4 separate regions of the Homo sapiens genome follow, and all the other regions are linked to region 4. Evidence: promoter capture Hi-C in 16 types of primary human blood cells and fetal thymus (Javierre and others, 2016). All regions are on one chromosome and are shown on one strand. The core of a region is centred on a gene start or on the middle of the fragment in contact, and the rest is flanking DNA. Distances in the headings are between cores, read along the strand shown.

Region 1 (4,178 bases), core at 912-3,411, 4.5 Mb before region 4:
ACCCAGGAGGTGGAGGTTGCAGTGAGCCGAAATCATGCCATTGCACTCCAGCCTGGGCAACAGAGCGAGACCCTGTCTAAAAAAAAAAAAGTTCTAGAGCTAAAAAAGATTATTCATATGGCACAAAGTGATCTCCTACTAGTCCAAAGTTCAAAAACATTTTAATAAAGTCCATTCATATATCTTTTGTTTGCTTTCCAATGGAATACTACGTTTATTGAGGCAAAATCACATTATTTTTAGTTCTTGGAGTCAAAAAGCGTACACGAATGTTCTTCAACACAGTTACTAAAAATACAAGACCAAGTTGAATGTGCCAAAGAGATACCATTCAGTTGGGTTTTCTAGAGTCATCAGGAAGAATATTAGAGAAGGGATTTACATGGTTGGTTTCCATAGCTTGATAGACCAAACACACACAAAAAAACTGCCACAACAACAAACAGCAAAATTTTTATCCATACAGGAATGGAGCGTCCCTTTTTTTTGTATTTTCTCACTTGACGTCTGCCAAGGGAACATACTTAGGAACATATGTAGATGAAAACGACTCCTCCATCCTCAAATCACTGAGTTCTAATGGCCGGCCTGCAGCTCCTTTGATTGTTCTGCGGCAACTAGCACTAATTCTTGTTGGTGTAGTTGCTTCATAGGGGAACATTTCCTTAAGAATATCCCTTTCTACTCTTCTTTCCTGTGTTTTTTTTCTCCCACTTCAGCTCTTGTCAATGGTTTCTTTGGTGTTCTTCTGGGTATGTCTGAGAATTCAGTGACTGGCAGAATAGGAAATGCATGCTTGAAATTTCCAGTCACCCTATTGACAATTAAGGATTCGTTGTTTGAAGCAATTATAGTTTCAGCTATGGGAGTACTCGCTGAAATTACTGCTCCATCTATACGAAAATATTCTGAAGCGTGCACCCTTTTGCTTGGAGTTCTTCTTGACCCTCTTGTAGATTCCCTAGTTAATAATGCCTGCAGAGGTCCGCCTTTTGAAGATCCACTTGTCCATTCAGTCCCAGTTATTCCAGCTTGAGAATAGCTCTCCTTGTGCTCAACTCTTCTTTGCTTGAGGGTTACTGGAGTCTTTACTCCCCTGTTTAGCGGTTCTCTCTTCTCAAACTTGAGCCCAATTTAGAGTCTTCTTCATTTTCACCATATCTGTCAGAATCATTACTTCCATTCTGCCTTGTATTTTCTGCTGAAGAAGAAATTGTTGCTGAAGGAGACGATCTTGATTCTGTTCCTTGCTCCCTCAGTTTCAAAAGCTATTTCTCATACAGCTTCCTGGTTGTTCCCACAATAGGACCACAATTCACTCCGTATTTCACAAGCTGATCCAAAGGATCTTCATTAGTGAGTTCTGTTACATCTAGATCGTCTTTATCATCTTGTCTGGGTTTATCAGTTTTCTTTGTGGCTTTCCTGCCGGCGGCGGGCTCGGAGCCGAGACGGCTGTGGGCTCGCGCTCCTCGTACGTAGCTGGAGAATTCCGGGGGCCCCTTTCTTTTGGCGCTGGCGGCGAGCGGCGGCCCTAACAAGTGATTTGAGACTGTTCAGTAGCTCAGATCCCTTGCAGCGGTTTGAGATTGAAGAGATTATGTAGGCAAAGTATTTTGCGTGAGCTCTTCAACCCCATGAGAGGATACATATGAACTGGACTGTCCTACGCCTCTTTACAGGCTCCGAAATTCAAAATATTGAAATATTTTGAAATTATTCGATTAGCTGCTATCCTTTGGATACAGATAACTCCTTCACTAAAGCGTTAGGGATAAGCAGCAGGAGTCAGTTTTAATATCATCATCCCCATTCCAAAATGGACCGAGAAATCATATAACTTTCTCCCGCCAGAAAGTTCAAATAAAACGCGCTAAAAAAAAAAAAAAAAACCAAACAAAAAAAAAACAAAAAAACCTCCCATTTTTTCCGGGGCGGGTGCAAGGTGACGGACGTAGATTCCTGCCAATTGTAGGAGGCTTCCTCAAGCGCGGTCCCGCCTCGTCAGGACGAACTACCAGCCAATGAGAGCACCGCTGCTTCAGCTATCGGGGGACCCATTGAAGAAGAAGAGTGGGTATTGGCCACAGCGTAGGGCTTCTGTCCAATAGGAGCATGCCTGCCGGCGGCTCTGGCGGGAGCTTGAGCGGCTCCGGAAGTGGCAGTTGGCGTAGGTGCATTCGGAGTGCGGCCGAGGTAACTACCGAGTCTTCGGCGGGCTCGCGAGCCCGGCCGCGGCCTGCTGGTTTCAGGTGAGGAGGGGTGTTGCTTCTCCTCAGGCCTTGGGCCTCTAGCTTCGGGATAAACCTCCCCACGCCTGATTCCTGGATTGGGATTCAGGAGACACCCCACGAGGTGGGCTGCACGCGGGCTTGGAACCCGGCGGCCTGAGGGGATTCGGGCCCTCGGGGCGGCGCCAGTGGTCGGGGCTAAGGAGCCCGAACCCCCGCGCGTATCTGGGTTGCTGGGCGTGGGGGCTGGGCAGGCGAGAGCTCGGGGCGATCACTGAAGGAGCCGAGTTCGCTGCTGCGGGGCCTGCCCTGGCCGGGGTGGGAGGTCGCCCGGCCCTTCCCCCGAGAGCCTAGCCTCGGGCTCCTCAGCGGCGTTGCCTGCGCCCGCTCTGAGCGCCGATTACTTCATCACTTTAAAGTTGATGGAAGAACTTCATTTTTAATTTCATCACGGAAACTGTGGAGTAAAGACTTGTATTATCCCTGTTTTACAGGAGAACAAGTTGAGCCGAGTTTAGGAAACCCGCCCAAAGTTTCCCCATGTAGTAAAAGAACAGGGATTTAATATCTATGTATCTAATCAATCTATCTATCTATCTATCTATCTATCTATCTATCTATCTAATCTGTCTATCTAATCTATCTATGTCTTTCTTTCCCCATGTAGTAAAAGAACAGGGATTTAATTTCCTTCTTTCCCTCTCTCCCTTCCCCTCCCGTCTCCCTCTCCCTCCTCTTCCCCCTCCGCCTCTCCCTCTCCCTCTCTCTTCCTCCCTTTTTCCTGTTATAAAGAGAAAAAGGTGTTATAAAGAGAAAAGCGGTGGCTCAGGCCTGTAATCCCAGCACTTTGGGAGGCCGAGGCAGTCGGATCACCTGAGGCCAGGAGTTCGAGACCAGCCTGACCAACATGGAGAAACCCCATTTCCCAGCTACTCGGGAGGCTGAGGCAGGAGAATCGCTTGAACCCGGGAGGCCGAGGTTGCAGTGAGCTGAGATCACGCCATTGCACTCCAGCCTGGGCAACAAGAGTGAAACTCCATCTCAAAAAAAGAAAGAAAGAAAGAAAGAAAAGTCTCCCTGTTGCACCCAGGCTGGAAGAGCTCACTGCAGTCTCGAACTCCCGGGCCCCAGGGATCCTCCCACCTCGGCTTCCCGCAATAGCTGGGACCACAGGTGCGCGCCACCACGCCCGGCTCATTGTTTTATTTTTCTTTTTTCTTTCTTTTTTTGAGATAGAGTCTCGCTTTGTTGCCCCTGCTGGAGTGCAGTGGTGCGATCTCGGCTCACTGCAACCTCTGCCTCCCGGGTTCAAGCGATTCTCCTGCCTCAGCCTCCCAAGTAGCTGGGATTACAGGCATGCGCCACCACACCCGGGTAGTTTTTGTATTTTTAGTGGAGACGGGGTTTCACCATATTGGCCATTCTGGGACTCCGACCTCAAGTGGTCTGCCCTCGGCTTCCCAAAGTGCTGGGATTACAGGTGTGAGCCACCGCGCCTGACCTGTTCTATTTTTCTTTTTTGGTAGAGATGGGAATTTCACTGTGTTGCCCAAGCTGGTCTGGAACACCAGAGCGTAAGTGATCCATCCGCCTGGGCATTTCAGTGTCCAGGGATCACAGGCGTGACCCTCTGCACCGGCCAGAGCAAAGATTTGAACACTTCCCCCGCCCACCTCTTCTCAACCTTTAATTGAGGGGCTTTCGTCCTGCCTGTTGTGGCCATTGATTGAAACCTGAGTAACAAAGATGACAAGTCTGAGGTTGACATTTTAAGCACCGCTCACAGCACACATAAAAAACAGCGTTTGTGTGACATCCTCAAGGTTTGGGGTGCCCAGCCCATGGTCTCTCGTTCTAGGCACCTCCGACTGGCCTACAGTGGTTAGGAAGCTTCAGCTCCAGAACTGCACCGTTCCATAGAACTTTGTGCGACGAGAAAAGTGTTCT
Region 2 (3,935 bases), core at 1,238-3,737, 4.6 Mb before region 4:
CTACAGGCACCCGCCACCACATCCGGCTAATTTTTTTTTGTATTTTTAGTAGAGATGGGGTTTCACCGTGTTAGCCAGGATGGTCTTAATCTCCTGACCTCGTGATCCGCCCACCTCGGCCTCCCAAAGTGCTGGGATTACAGGCGTGAGCCACTGCGACCGGCCCTAAACTTTTTTCAAACATTTACATTTTCTCAACAGGAAATGTCCTTTCATTCTGCACAGTTCTCTCTGCTTTCTTCTAAAAGGTTCCTTGTTTTACATTTTACATTTAAATCTCTGATCCATTCAGGCAATTTTTGCATAGAATATGAGGTTTAGGTGAAGTTCATTTTTTTGTTCAGTTACTCCACCACCATTTGAACACCACCTATCTGGCAAAGGATTAATATCTAGAATATTTAAACTCTCAAAACTCAAGTTTTTTAAAAAGAATTCAACTAAAAATGGGCAAAAGACATGGACAGACATTTCACCAATGAGGCTATACAGATGGCAAACAAGCACATGAAAACATGTCCATCATCACCAGGCACTAAAGAAATGCCAATTAAAACCATGATGAGACCAGGCGCAGTGGCTCATGCCTATAATCCCAGCACTTTGGGAGGCCAAGGTGGGTGGATCACCTGAGGTCAGGAGTTCGAGACCAGTCTGGCCAATATGGCGAAACGCTGTCTCTACTAAAAATACAAAAAATAGACAGGTGTGGTGGTGCACGCCTGTAGTCCCAGCTACTTGGGAGGCTGAGGCTGGAGAATCGCTTGAACCCAGGAGGTGGAGGTTGCAGTGAGCTGAGATGGCGCCACTGCACTCCAGCCTGGGCAACAGAGTAAGACTCTATCTCAAAACAAAACAAAACAAAAAACCATGATGATATATCACTATTCACCTGTTAGAATAGCTAAAAATTCAGGCAGGGACAAAATAAAATGCTGCTGAGGATGCAGAGAAACTGAATGTCTTGTACATTGATGGTGGGACAGTAAAAAAAAAAAAAAAGAAAAGAAAAGAAAAAAACTTCCAAAAGGTTATACATTGTATGATTTTGTTTATAGCAGATCAGTATACCCATCCTGCAGCTGCTATGAGTGTTGACAGCTAAACACTCACACAGCTTCCCCCTCGTCCAGAAGAATTGCCCTGGGCAGAAAGGAGGCTGCCTCTTGTTCCAGACCTTCACATTCCAGACCTCCCCATGGAGCCTCCACTGACTACATACTTGTTTCACTTTTTCTTCCTCTGCCCTATCATACCCACCACTCTCCTAAGAGTCTTCCTTCAATAAATCACAGGCACCTGTGTTACTTGTTGAAGGTGTCCAGGTTCTTGGCATCTTGAACAAAGAAATGGGCAAAATGCACAAAGCAAGGAAAGAATGAGGCAACAAAAGCAGAGATGTATTGAAAACAAAGGTACACTCCACAGGGTGGGAGCCAGCGTGAGCATAGGGGCTCAAGAACTCCGTTACAGAATTTTCTGGGATTTAAATACCCTCTAGAGGCTCCCATTGGTTAATTGGTGTACACCCTATGTAAATGAAGAAGATGAAGTGAAGTTGCTCAGTCACTTACTCAGTGAACGCCATATGTAAATGAAGAAAATATTTCCTGTCATAGCTGAAATGTGTCCATTTTATTTAGTTCTAAGAAGTCAGCGTGAATCAGCTTTATGTTCCCTGCCTGCAGACCCTATTCTCCTGCCTCACCTCAATCTCTTCACCTAAGACAGGAAGAAAACTGATGATGCAGGAGACGAAGAACAATAGCAAGGCGAAGAAATGAATCTCCAAGGCCGGCTTCAAGCGATTCTCCCCTCTCAGGCTCCCGAGTAGCTGGGATTACAGGCATGCACCACCACGCCTGGCTAATTTTTGTATTTTTAGTAGAGACAGGGTTTCCCCATGTTGGCCAGGATGGTCTTGAACTCCTGACCTCAGGTGATCTGGCCACCTCCGCCTCCCAAAGTGCTGGAATTACAGGCATGAGCCACCACACCCAGCTCCCAGTTCTGTTCTTTTAGAGGCAAATAGTCTGTTGAGTAAATGCATAACACTACTTAGACTTTCTAGCTGAAGATGTAGTTAATCTTAAGAAAACCTGACTCACACTGTAACAGGATGTTCTGCAATGACCTTAGAAGAGGAAGTGACTTTTTTCCCACTTTGGTGTCTCTTCCCTCGTACCCTCCCCACCCCGCCAATATTATCCAGCACAGAGAAGCAAACACCAGAAGCTTCTCTCCAACTTTCAGTTTTTCTCTAAACTTCCAGTCCTTCTCATACTGTGTCCTGGTTATAATAGTTGCTGGGACCTTATTCTATTCTGAATCCCCAGCCCCTAAAGAAGGCTTGGTACTGACGTGTACAGCGTAGTTACCCAGTGACTTTGGGGAAGGCAGGAAGAGTGTGGAAAGGACAGGAGGAAGGAAGGGAGGGGCCGTGGCTCCGAGCTGCCTAGAAAGCGGCTCCAGGGAGCCAGGGCACCGTGAGCCTGGTGGTTGGCAGCTGGAGCCACGTCGGAGGGGGAAGTGTCGCAGCATTCTCTGCAGGCATCACAGACCTGAGGCAGTGGCCTCCGGAGGGCACTGGACAGAAACAGCCATCCAAGTGGCTGAGTGGAGGGACCCTGCTCAAGTGCAGCTGCAGTGGCCGGGGTTTCCCTCAGGTAGGGATCGGGGCGCCTTGTCGCCGCCAGCCACGTGTGGCGTCCGGTACAGTCAGCAGAGTGCAGGGTGCGGGCACCAGGAAAGGGGGCGCAGGGGAACTCCCGCGGGCCTCGCGTTTGCAAACTTCTCGCCTGGGCAGGAGGCGGTCGTGGGAAAGAAGGTGGAAGAGCGAGCTTTTTGGAACTGTGCACGGGACAGATTGGACGCACACCCCTCGGGAGGCGCGAAGGTGAGCATGGGGTCTTCCCAGGAGGCGGCGGGGCCGAGGGGCTGCAGCCGAATTCCTGGACGGTGATGGGAAGAACCAGGGGTGAGGGTGGCCCGGTCCGAGTTCCTGGAACTCAGGACCGAGTTGGTTTCATTTCCTCAGCTCTGATGGTGGAGCTGCCTGCTCGGATCTCGCACTACCTTCCGCCAAAGCGAGACGCCCAGTAGCAGTGGGGGTCGTGGAGGGCAGGGGCACGGGAACAAGTTACCTGATGTCTTCTCAGAAAAAGGAAGTCTTCAGGTTTGCAGGCTGAAGGCGTGAGAGAGAGACAGAGTGAGAGAGAGAGAAGAGGGAAATGCCTGATAACCTTTACTTATTTTATTTTATTTTTATTTTTTATTTTTTGGAGGGAAGAGGTGAATTTGCATTGTTATTACCATTTAAAGATTTTTCACTTTTAAAATTAGTAACCTGTTTTCTCATCGTAACATATGAACATAATCCCCTTTTTCTTTTTATTTATTTATTTTGAGAGATGGAGTCTTCCTCTGTTGCCCAGGCTGGAGCGCAGTGGCACAATCATAGCTCACTGCAGCCTCCGAACTCATGGGCTCAAGTGATCCTCCAACCAGATCCTCCCAAGTAGCTAGGACTACAAGGTGCACATCACCACACCCAATTAAATTTTTTTTGTATTTTTTGGTAGAGCCAGGGTCTCGCTTTGTCACCCAGGCTGGTCTCAAACTCCTGGGCTCAGGTGATCCTCCTACCTCACCCTCCCAAAGTGCTGGGATTACAGGTGTGAGCCACTGCAGCTGGCCTGAACATATTCTTAGCTGTTTGTTTTACATATTATAAATAGCACTGCAGTGAACATCTCGGTAGCCATCTATCTACAAACACAAGCTTTTCTACATCATAAGTTCCTAGAAATTCAAATTGCCCAGTCTAAGTGTGTATATATGTATATTCCCTTTCTTCCCTTGTAGATCATATACTTAATAAGACCTTAAACAATTTAAGTTATTGTAGGGTGCTTTTTCCCAATATTTTGCAGTTT
Region 3 (3,982 bases), core at 787-3,286, 4.3 Mb before region 4:
TTTCACCATGTTGGCCAGGCTGGTCTCAAGCTCCTGACCTCAAGTGATCCGCCTGCCTTGGCCTCCCAGAGTTCTGGGATTACAGGCATGAGCCATCACACCCGGCCTGGGACTCTTCTTGCAGTGAGCCAGGGCCATGGGACCCTTCAAAAGTTGCTCCACCCTAATCCCCAAAATATCTTTTTCTCCCGCCTGTCCCAAGTGCCTGGCATCATACTATATGGGTCAACTGGCCGTGTTTGCCATGGAAGCCCAATTGTAGGAAGTGGGTCTTTTATCACCCGGCATAGCAGAGCTGTGGAAACTGCACTGGGAAAGATCAGGATGTGAATTAAAGCGTTGGGAATGGGAAGGCAGAGACCTTGGATTAGCTGGGATGCTCCATGCACTCGCTGAGTGACCTTGGACAAGCCCCTTAGACACACTAAGCCCGTTTCCTCATCTACACGACGGGCATCCCATCTGCTACTGCACCAGGTTCTTGTGGCAATAACTTGAACTCACACATGCAAACAGGCTTTGTGAGCTCCATAAACACAGGTGGCTCGGCCAGGTGTGGTGGCTCATGCCTGCAACCCCAGCACTTTGGGAGGCCAAGGTGGGAAGATCCCTTGAGCCCAGGAGTTGGAGACCAGCCTGGGCAAGACGATGAAATCCTGTCTCTACCAAAAAAAATAATAATAATTAGCCAGGCATGGTGGCACACACCTGGTCCCAGCTACTTGGGAGGCTGAGGTGGAAGGATCACTTGGGCCCAAGAGGTCAAGGCTGCAGTGAGCTGAGATTATAACACTCCAACCTGAGTGGCAGAATGAAACTGTCTAAAAAATAAAAATAAAAATACATCAAAAAACAGGTAGCTATTAAGCATTGCTAGGACCCACACGCAGTGACCCTGAGGGTGCTGGGTTTCTGTTTGAGGGAGAAGAAACTCCTGAGCCCCTAGGTATTGTGGGGGACATGCAGTTCCAGACCGCCTTCATGGCCTGTATGCCTGGCCTCATCCCCATCCCTGGCACCCATGACGATAGCCACATTCCACTGGTGTTTCCCCAGGAAAGCCAACCCTACCTGCATCTCAGCAGAGCTTCCACGGAGTTGGAACCCCGCTCCGAGAGGGTGTGGGCTCAGGGGCCAGGGGTCACACAAACTCCAGAAGGAGGACGTAGTTGGTTTGCAAGGCTGTCCTTTGCCCTGGTTGAATAACCTTCGGTCTGCCCCGAGAGGAACGTGGGCATTAGGCTGCAGCCCGCAGGAAGCCATGTATTTTCTGAGAAACTTGGCCCATGGTGCAGATCTGCTCCAGCTCACTCTGGTGGGATCACGCCAGCCACGGCCGGGCCACGGCACATCATGGCAACGTGCTGCCCACCTGCTACGCCGCCTGTTTTTCTAGAGGCGGACGTGATCCCAGCAGGACTGGAGTCAGCCCAGGGCATCACGTGCTCTGGTCCCCGCCTGCTTTGACTCCTCCTGCCTCACTCCCCCCCTGGCCTGTAGTCACGTGGGTGAGGGTGGTGGGCACCGGGGCTGGGCCCAGCCCCCGACCCTGCCCAGACAGACTTTCCTAAGGCACCCTTTTCCTCGTGCAGGTGCGGCCTCAGCCCACCCCCCTTTGAGCCCACAGATTGCACCCCTCTGGTGTGCGGTTACCTCTTGCCTATGTTTAATTCATGGCTGGGGGGTTGGGACGAGCTTCCCAAGAAAGGAAAGAACTCCCCTGGGGTCTTGCCCAGTTCCTGCTCACCAGAAGGACCATAGCCGAGGTCCTCCTCCCAGGGCCCGGGGCTGGGGAGCGGAAGCCATCAGTGGGCTCGGAGGACACTGTCCCAGCCAGGACACGGCCATCGGTCACTAATCTGCAGCACCGGAATGTCCCCAGGCCAATCAGCGGGGTCTCTGGGGGCTCCCCAAGGGTGCTAATAATCCCACAATGATTAGCAGGGGCCGCGGGGCAGTGCACGCCACTCTGCCTGCTGTCGGGGGCGGGCTGGCCAGGCCGAGGCCGGAGCAGGCAGGCATCCCCGGGAGTTGTCTCTTTTCATGCCAGCGCCAACAGGAGGCTGTCTGGACACACTGATTACTCACTCACCAGCCTCCTTCTTTTGTTCACCAGCCCCCCTCTTTTGTCCACCAGCCCAGCCTGACTCCTGGAGATTGTGAATAGCTCCATCCAGCCTGAGAAACAAGCCGGGTGGCTGAGCCAGGCTGTGCACGGAGCGCCTGACGGGCCCAACAGACCCATGCTGCATCCAGAGACCTCCCCTGGCCGGGGGCATCTCCTGGCTGTGCTCCTGGCCCTCCTTGGCACCACCTGGGCAGAGGTGTGGCCACCCCAGCTGCAGGAGCAGGCTCCGATGGCCGGAGGTAAGGGACACCTGGTGAGGAGGTAGGTGGAGGCACCATTATGAGCTCTGAGGAGTGGGTGCTAGGAGACTTCTGGAAGCCCGGTCCCAGGCCTGAGCCCCAGGCCGTGCGGGTGGTTTAATGAGGAAGCCCTGGGACAGCCCGGGGGCGGTGAGGGGTGGATGCTGGACTGGGGAGGAAGGAGGAGGAAGGAGGAGGAAGGAGGACCAGGGCTGGGGTCAAGGAGGAACGCCGAGGAGCGCTGTGGCTGGGGCCTGGAGAAATCCGTGGCCCGGAGGAGCCCCAGACAGGGGCCTGCGGGAGCCAGGGCTGGCCCCTACACCCAGCCCGCACCGCTGTTCCCTCCCGCCACCCCAACCCCAGCACTCAGCCCACGCCTGCTGTACCTGGTCTCTCTCTCAGCCTCGCTCCATTGCTATGCCCCACGTCCCCTGCACCCACCACACTCCTCTCCCATCTTGTTTTCCAAGGGCAGGGACACATGCTTATTCTGCCGTGTGTTGGGTTCAGGTCCCCCCATCCTCGGGCTGCCTGACCTTCTCTCCCCACCCCAGCCCTGAACAGGAAGGAGAGTTTCTTGCTCCTCTCCCTGCACAACCGCCTGCGCAGCTGGGTCCAGCCCCCTGCGGCTGACATGCGGAGGCTGGTGAGTACCCGACCCAGCTGGGCTCTGCCAGGGGGGTGGCCGGAGGCGCGGACCCCAGAGGGCGGCTCAGGAGGCCACGCCTGTCCAGGTGCCCTTCCACTTGACCAGGGTGGGCAGGCACAGCCAGCCACCTTGCCCCTGAGGGACGGAGGCCCTGGTTGCTGGGGGTCTCTGCAGTTTCTTAACCCCCCACCCTCAGTTCAGGAGGTCGGGCCCCTTGGCTCCCACTCGCCTGAAGGGCAGGACCTTGGGCCTTCCCTGGCATCTTGTTGCCACAGAGACCAGGAGCCACAGGAGGAGCCGGATCCCCTCCTCCAGGGAAGGGGAGCTTCACGAGGAGCCCTGCAGGATGGGCGGCCGGGCCAGGGAGGGAGAAGGTCGTGCTGGGCTGGGGAGGGGCTTCTGTGCGGCAAGGACCCAGCGCCTCCTCCTGAGCTTATCTGAGCCACTAGGACGGGCCTTGCCCATGTTCTCTGCTCACTCACTCGTCCACATTTTCCACATTTTCAGCAGGGGCCAGGGGTCGGGGGTATAGAGTTCCCCACCAGCCCGGCTGGGGCTGCGGGGTTGGGACTGTCATCTGGAGGCTCAGAAACGCTGCCCTCCATTGTCTGGGACCCCAGCAGCCCCAGCCCATGTTAGCAGGCCAGGGAGCCAGGGCAGGGTGGTGGGGGCGGGAGGGTTCCCCATGGCTGCTTCCCATGAACTCCTCCAAGGCAGGTGGCCACAGTGGCGACCTTGAACACTCTAGGGTCAGTTTCCCAGGAGGTGGGGGTGGGGTGGCTAAATGCGGGGGGTCGCTTCTCCCCCATTCCCAGCCCTGAGTGGCTCTGCCTCTCCTCAGGCTCAGACCCTGGGCAACCAGGGGTGCTCCCAGCTGTGACCTCCGTGGTTGGGTACTCCTGCCTGGGACCCCAGGAGGGGCTGCGGTGGTCGTTGGCTGGCAGCTGGCACCCTTTCCAGGGCCCT
Region 4 (4,316 bases), core at 1-2,500:
CTTTGGGAGGCTGACGTGAGAGGATCACTAGAGTCCAGGAGTCTGAGACCAGCCTAGGCAACATAGCAAGACCCTGCCTCTACAAAAATAAAATTAAAAAATTAGCTGGGGATGTTGGCACATGCTTGTAGTCCCAGCTATTCAGGAGGCTGAGGCAGGGGGATCACTTCAGCCTCGGAGGTCAAGCTGCAGTAAGCCAGCCTGGGTGACAGAGCAATGCCCTGTCTCACAAAAAAAAAAAAAATTAAGAGAAAACCTATCACTACAAGTAGTATGACTAACATCAAGAAGAAAACAAGCATGCCTACAATCATTGATTGCTACCTGTCACAATAGAACAAAGGAAGGAAATTATAGGAAGAAAGACTATGGGCCCGGGTGCGGTGGCTCACGCCTGTAATTCCAGCACTTTGGGAGGCCGAGGTGGGTGGATCACCTAAGGTCAGGAGTTCGAGACCAAGCTGGCCAACATGGTGAAATCCTGTCTCTACTAAAAATACAAAAATTAGTCGGGTGTGGTGGCAGGCGCCTGTAATCCCAGCTACTCGGGAGGCTGAGGCAGGAGAATCACTTGAACCCGGGAGGCAGAGGTTGCGGTGAGCCTAGATCATGTCATCGCACTCCAGCCTGGGGGACAAGTGTGAGACTTCATCTCAAAAAAAAAAAAGAAAAAAAAAAAAAAAAGCCGGCCGGGTGCGGTGGCTCACGCTTCTAATCCCAGCACTTTGGGAGGCCAAGGCTGGCAGATCACGAGGTAGGAGATCGAGACCATTCTGGTTAACCCGGTGAAACCCCGTCTCTATGAAAAATACAAAAAATTAGCCGGGCGTGGTGGCAGGCGCCTGTAGTCCCAGCTACTCAGGAGGCTGAGGCAGGAGAATGGCGTGAACCCGGGAGGCGGAGCTTGCAGTGAGCCGAGATTGCGCCACTGCACTCCAGCCTGGGCGACAGAGTGAGACTCCGTCTCAAAAAAAAGGTTCTGGAGAAGGAAGAAACTATTACTATTTGCATATGATTAGACTGAACTCAGCCTGCAGACCTTTTTATAACAGCAAAAGACTAGAAATAACATAAATGTCTATTAGTATCGGAATGATGTACCACAATGGAATGCTACGCCACTGTTAAAAAATAAAGAAAAAAAGAACAAGGAAGCTCTTTTGCTTTAGGTACCAACAAAGAAAGAGCTCTAAGAGAAATTGTGAAGTGAGGCCGGGCATGGTAGCTCATGCCTGTAATCCCAGCACTTTGGGAGGCTGAGGTGTGTGGACCACTTGAGGTCAGGAGTTGGAAACAAGCCTGGGCAACATGGTGAAGCCCCGTCTGTACTAAAAATACAAAAATTAGCCAGGCGTGGTGGCGTGCACCTGTAATCCCAGCTACTCGGGAGGCTGAAGCAGGACAATCACTTGAACCTGGGAGGCGAAGGTTGCAGTGAACTGAGATTATGCCACTACATTCCACCCTAGGTGACAGAGTGAGACTCTGCCTCAATTAAAAAAAAAATTGTGAAGTGAAAAAAAAAAAAACAGGATGAAGAATAGCAGTATGCTTCCATTTCTGTTTTTAAAAAGGGGGCTTGGCTGGGTATGGTGGCTCACACCTATAATCCCAGCACTTTGGGAGGACAAGGTGGGTGTATCACCTGAGGTCAGGAGTTTGAGACCAGCTTGAGCGACATGGCAAAACCTGTCTCTACAAAAAAATACAAAAATTAGCCAGGCATGGTGGCACATGCCTACAGTCCCAGCTACTCGGGAGGCGGAGGTGGGAGGGTGGCTTGAGCCCAAGAGGTCGAGGCTGCAGTGAGCCACGGTCATGCCATTGCACTCCACCCTGGGCAAAAGAGTGAGACCCTGTCTCAAAAAAAAAAAAAAATTAATTATGAATTTGCTTGCAATATGCATACAAATCTGAAATGACATATAAAAGTAATACTAATATTATTGGTGACAGTTGGTGAGAACAGATCAGACGGCGCCAAATACTTTTTAAATGTATCACCTATTCAAAAAAACTTATATAACTTAGTTAAAAATGGTCAAATCTCTTCAATGCAGCCTACCTCAGCTCCCAAGGCCCAATCAGATACAGCTCTCCAAACCTGCCAGTGCTGGTGAACGCGCTGCTGGGAGCACTGGCACCCCACAGTGGTTGTGGGAAGGGAAGGGAAGGGAAGGGAAGGGAAGTGAAGGGAAGGGAAGGGAAGGGTGCCCTCTCACCTCTATGGGGATGTAGAGCATGAATCCTGGCTCTCCTGTGTGCGTCATGCTCATCACCCGGATCCCATTTGCATAGCCCACACTCATCTCCTGCAGGGACAAAGGCAGCAGTCAGCCTGGGCACTCACATTACTTGTCAAGGGAGGGACGCCTGGGGAAACCTTTCATTAGTGCTGCACCCTCTGTTTACTGTTGAGGGAGACAGACGTCAAGGCAAGAATTTCATCCCGAAAGTGGTTAACTTCCAGGTCCTGAGGCACAGAGAATGGAGCACTGCCTATGTGACATCTCTGCTTGCTACTGTTACCATCTCAGGAGTTTTAGCCAAGCTGATGGTAGAGAGTGGAGGAAAGTCCTTGACAAGCACAAAATATTCCTCTTTGCCAGGTCCTTGTGTTAGTCGAGGGTAGCAGGCACAATGAGGACAAGGCGAGTGTCTTCTCTGGGGGAATCAGCAGACAAACCCTGGCCGCCTGCCATACAAAAGATGATGCCCGATGCCCACAGACATAATTAATCTGCTATCCTGGGGTCAAAGATGGGCTTCTGATTCTCAGAACACGTTACATAGCAGCTCAGTTCCCTAACAGCGGCCACTGACGCAATCACCGTTCCTATAAAGGAAAGTGGAAAGTCCTGGACAGCACCGAAGTGAACCGCTTCCACAGGAGGCTGACAGGATGCAGCACTCGCCAGGTGTTGAGCGTATGGGTCACTCCTCCAAGCAGCAGAGCAAACGCTGGGAGGGGTCCACTGATAGCTAACAGTGGAGAGTTTTCTGTTGCTTTCACTTTGCCTCGGAGAAGAAGGAAAACTGTGAAACAATTTGTAGGTGGATCCCACTTTGGGTGAACTTCAAAGAGTCTCCATCAGTAACCACCTGGAAGTTGCTCGTTACAGGTGGCCAAGATGTCTGTCCGTTTGGCCCTCTCTAATCAGCAGCTTCCTGGGGAGGATTCCGTTGTCATTGCTTTCATTCGGTTACAGTTTGTTTCACTCAGCTGTGGTTGCCACTTATAGGAAAGAAAATTATGTAGGAAGTTCAGAGATTCACCTACGCCATTTCTTCCCTGAAGATGCCACAGACACAGAAGTTACTCTGTGTACAGAAAAGAGGCCACACTGCATGGAGAGAAGGGACCTAACTTCGAAAGGCATTTTTGTGTGTGTCATAATCCTGTAACTTCAAATTTTAATCCAGTGCTACAGAAACCAAAAAGCATAAAGACTTTACATTTAGAGAAGCTAAATCCACTTCAAAGATATCCTAATGCTTATTAAATAAAGCAAGCTTGGAGTGTAAAAAATAAACAAATAAGGCCGGGCGCAGTGGCTCACACCTGTAATCCCAGCACTTTGGGAGGCTGAGGTGGGTGGTTCACCTGAGGTCAGGAGTTCAAGACCAGCCTGGCAAACATGGTGAAACCCTGTCTCTACTAAAAATACAAAAAGTTAGCTGGGCATGGTGGCGGGCGCTTGTAATCCCAGCTACTCGGGAGGCTGAAACAGGAGAATCGCCTGAACCCGGGAAGTGGAGGTTGCAGTGAGCCGAGATCGCACCATTGCACGCCAGCCTGTGCAACAAGAGTGAAACTCTGTCTCAAAATAAATAAATAAATAAATAAATAAATAAATATACTTAGTCACTTCTTTGCTAATGAAGGGCAGCACATTTTTTTTTTTTTTTTTGAGACAGTCTTGCTCTGTTGCCAGCCTGGAGTGCAATGGCGCAATCTCGGCTCACTGCAACATCTGCCTCCCAGGTTCAAGTCATTCTCCTGCCTCAGCCTCCCGAGTAGCTGGGACCACAGGCATGCGCCACCACACCCGGCTAATTTTTGTATTTTTATATTTATTTATAAATATAAGATGTAATCCCAAAGTGCTGGGATTATAGGCGTGAGCCACTGCACCTGGCCAGCACACTCTTTTATTTGAGACAGAGTCTCACTCTGTCACCCAGGTGGAGTGCAGTGGCGTGTTCTCGGCTCACTGCGACCTCTGCCTCCAGAGTTCAAGCGATTCCTGTGCCTCAGCCTCCCAAGTAGCTGGGATTATAGGTGCGTGAGACCATACCCAGCTAATTTTTGTATT

The links. The method cuts DNA at HindIII sites, captures the fragments that hold promoters and counts their contacts. A CHiCAGO score of 5 or more calls a contact.
Region 1: the fragment with the promoter of RFWD3 here is called in contact with a fragment that was not itself captured in region 4 in 3 of 17 cell types (M1 macrophages, M2 macrophages and erythroblasts); the score reaches 27.2 in M1 macrophages.
Region 2: the fragment with the promoter of MLKL here is called in contact with a fragment that was not itself captured in region 4 in 2 of 17 cell types (M1 macrophages and M2 macrophages); the score reaches 10.6 in M1 macrophages.
Region 3: a contact is called between the fragment with the promoter of CLEC18B here and a fragment that was not itself captured in region 4, in 4 of 17 cell types (M1 macrophages, M2 macrophages, megakaryocytes and 1 more). The highest score is 27.8, in M1 macrophages.

The regions. Positions count from the first base shown.
Region 1 is chr16:74,664,860-74,669,037 of GRCh38, reverse strand. RFWD3 (ring finger and WD repeat domain 3) reads left to right here and starts at 2,161. Exons shown (of 13, transcript NM_018124.4): 1 at 2,161-2,252. It also overlaps the pseudogene TMPOP2. RefSeq lists a silencer at 2,482-2,631. The HindIII fragment of the contact is 4,771 bases long and covers 1-4,123 here.
Region 2 is chr16:74,699,414-74,703,348 of GRCh38, reverse strand. MLKL (mixed lineage kinase domain like pseudokinase) reads left to right here and starts at 2,487. Exons shown (of 11, transcript NM_152649.4): 1 at 2,487-2,896. RefSeq lists an enhancer at 2,584-3,033. The HindIII fragment of the contact is 1,546 bases long and covers 2,238-3,783 here.
Region 3 is chr16:74,419,532-74,423,513 of GRCh38, reverse strand. It overlaps CLEC18B (C-type lectin domain family 18 member B), which reads left to right and starts at 2,036. Exons shown (of 12, transcript NM_001385193.1): 1 at 2,036-2,367; 2 at 2,922-3,013. The coding sequence starts at 2,244. It overlaps LOC107984827 (a long non-coding RNA gene), which reads right to left and starts at 1,394. Exons shown (of 3, transcript XR_001752253.3): 1 at 1,072-1,394. The HindIII fragment of the contact is 28,054 bases long and covers 1-3,982 here.
Region 4 is chr16:70,146,460-70,150,775 of GRCh38, reverse strand. It overlaps PDPR (pyruvate dehydrogenase phosphatase regulatory subunit), which reads right to left. Exons shown (of 19, transcript NM_017990.5): 17 at 2,223-2,312. Among named protein-coding and RNA genes, the nearest start is that of CLEC18C, 25 kb to the left of the region's middle. The HindIII fragment of the contact is 4,530 bases long and covers 1-3,515 here.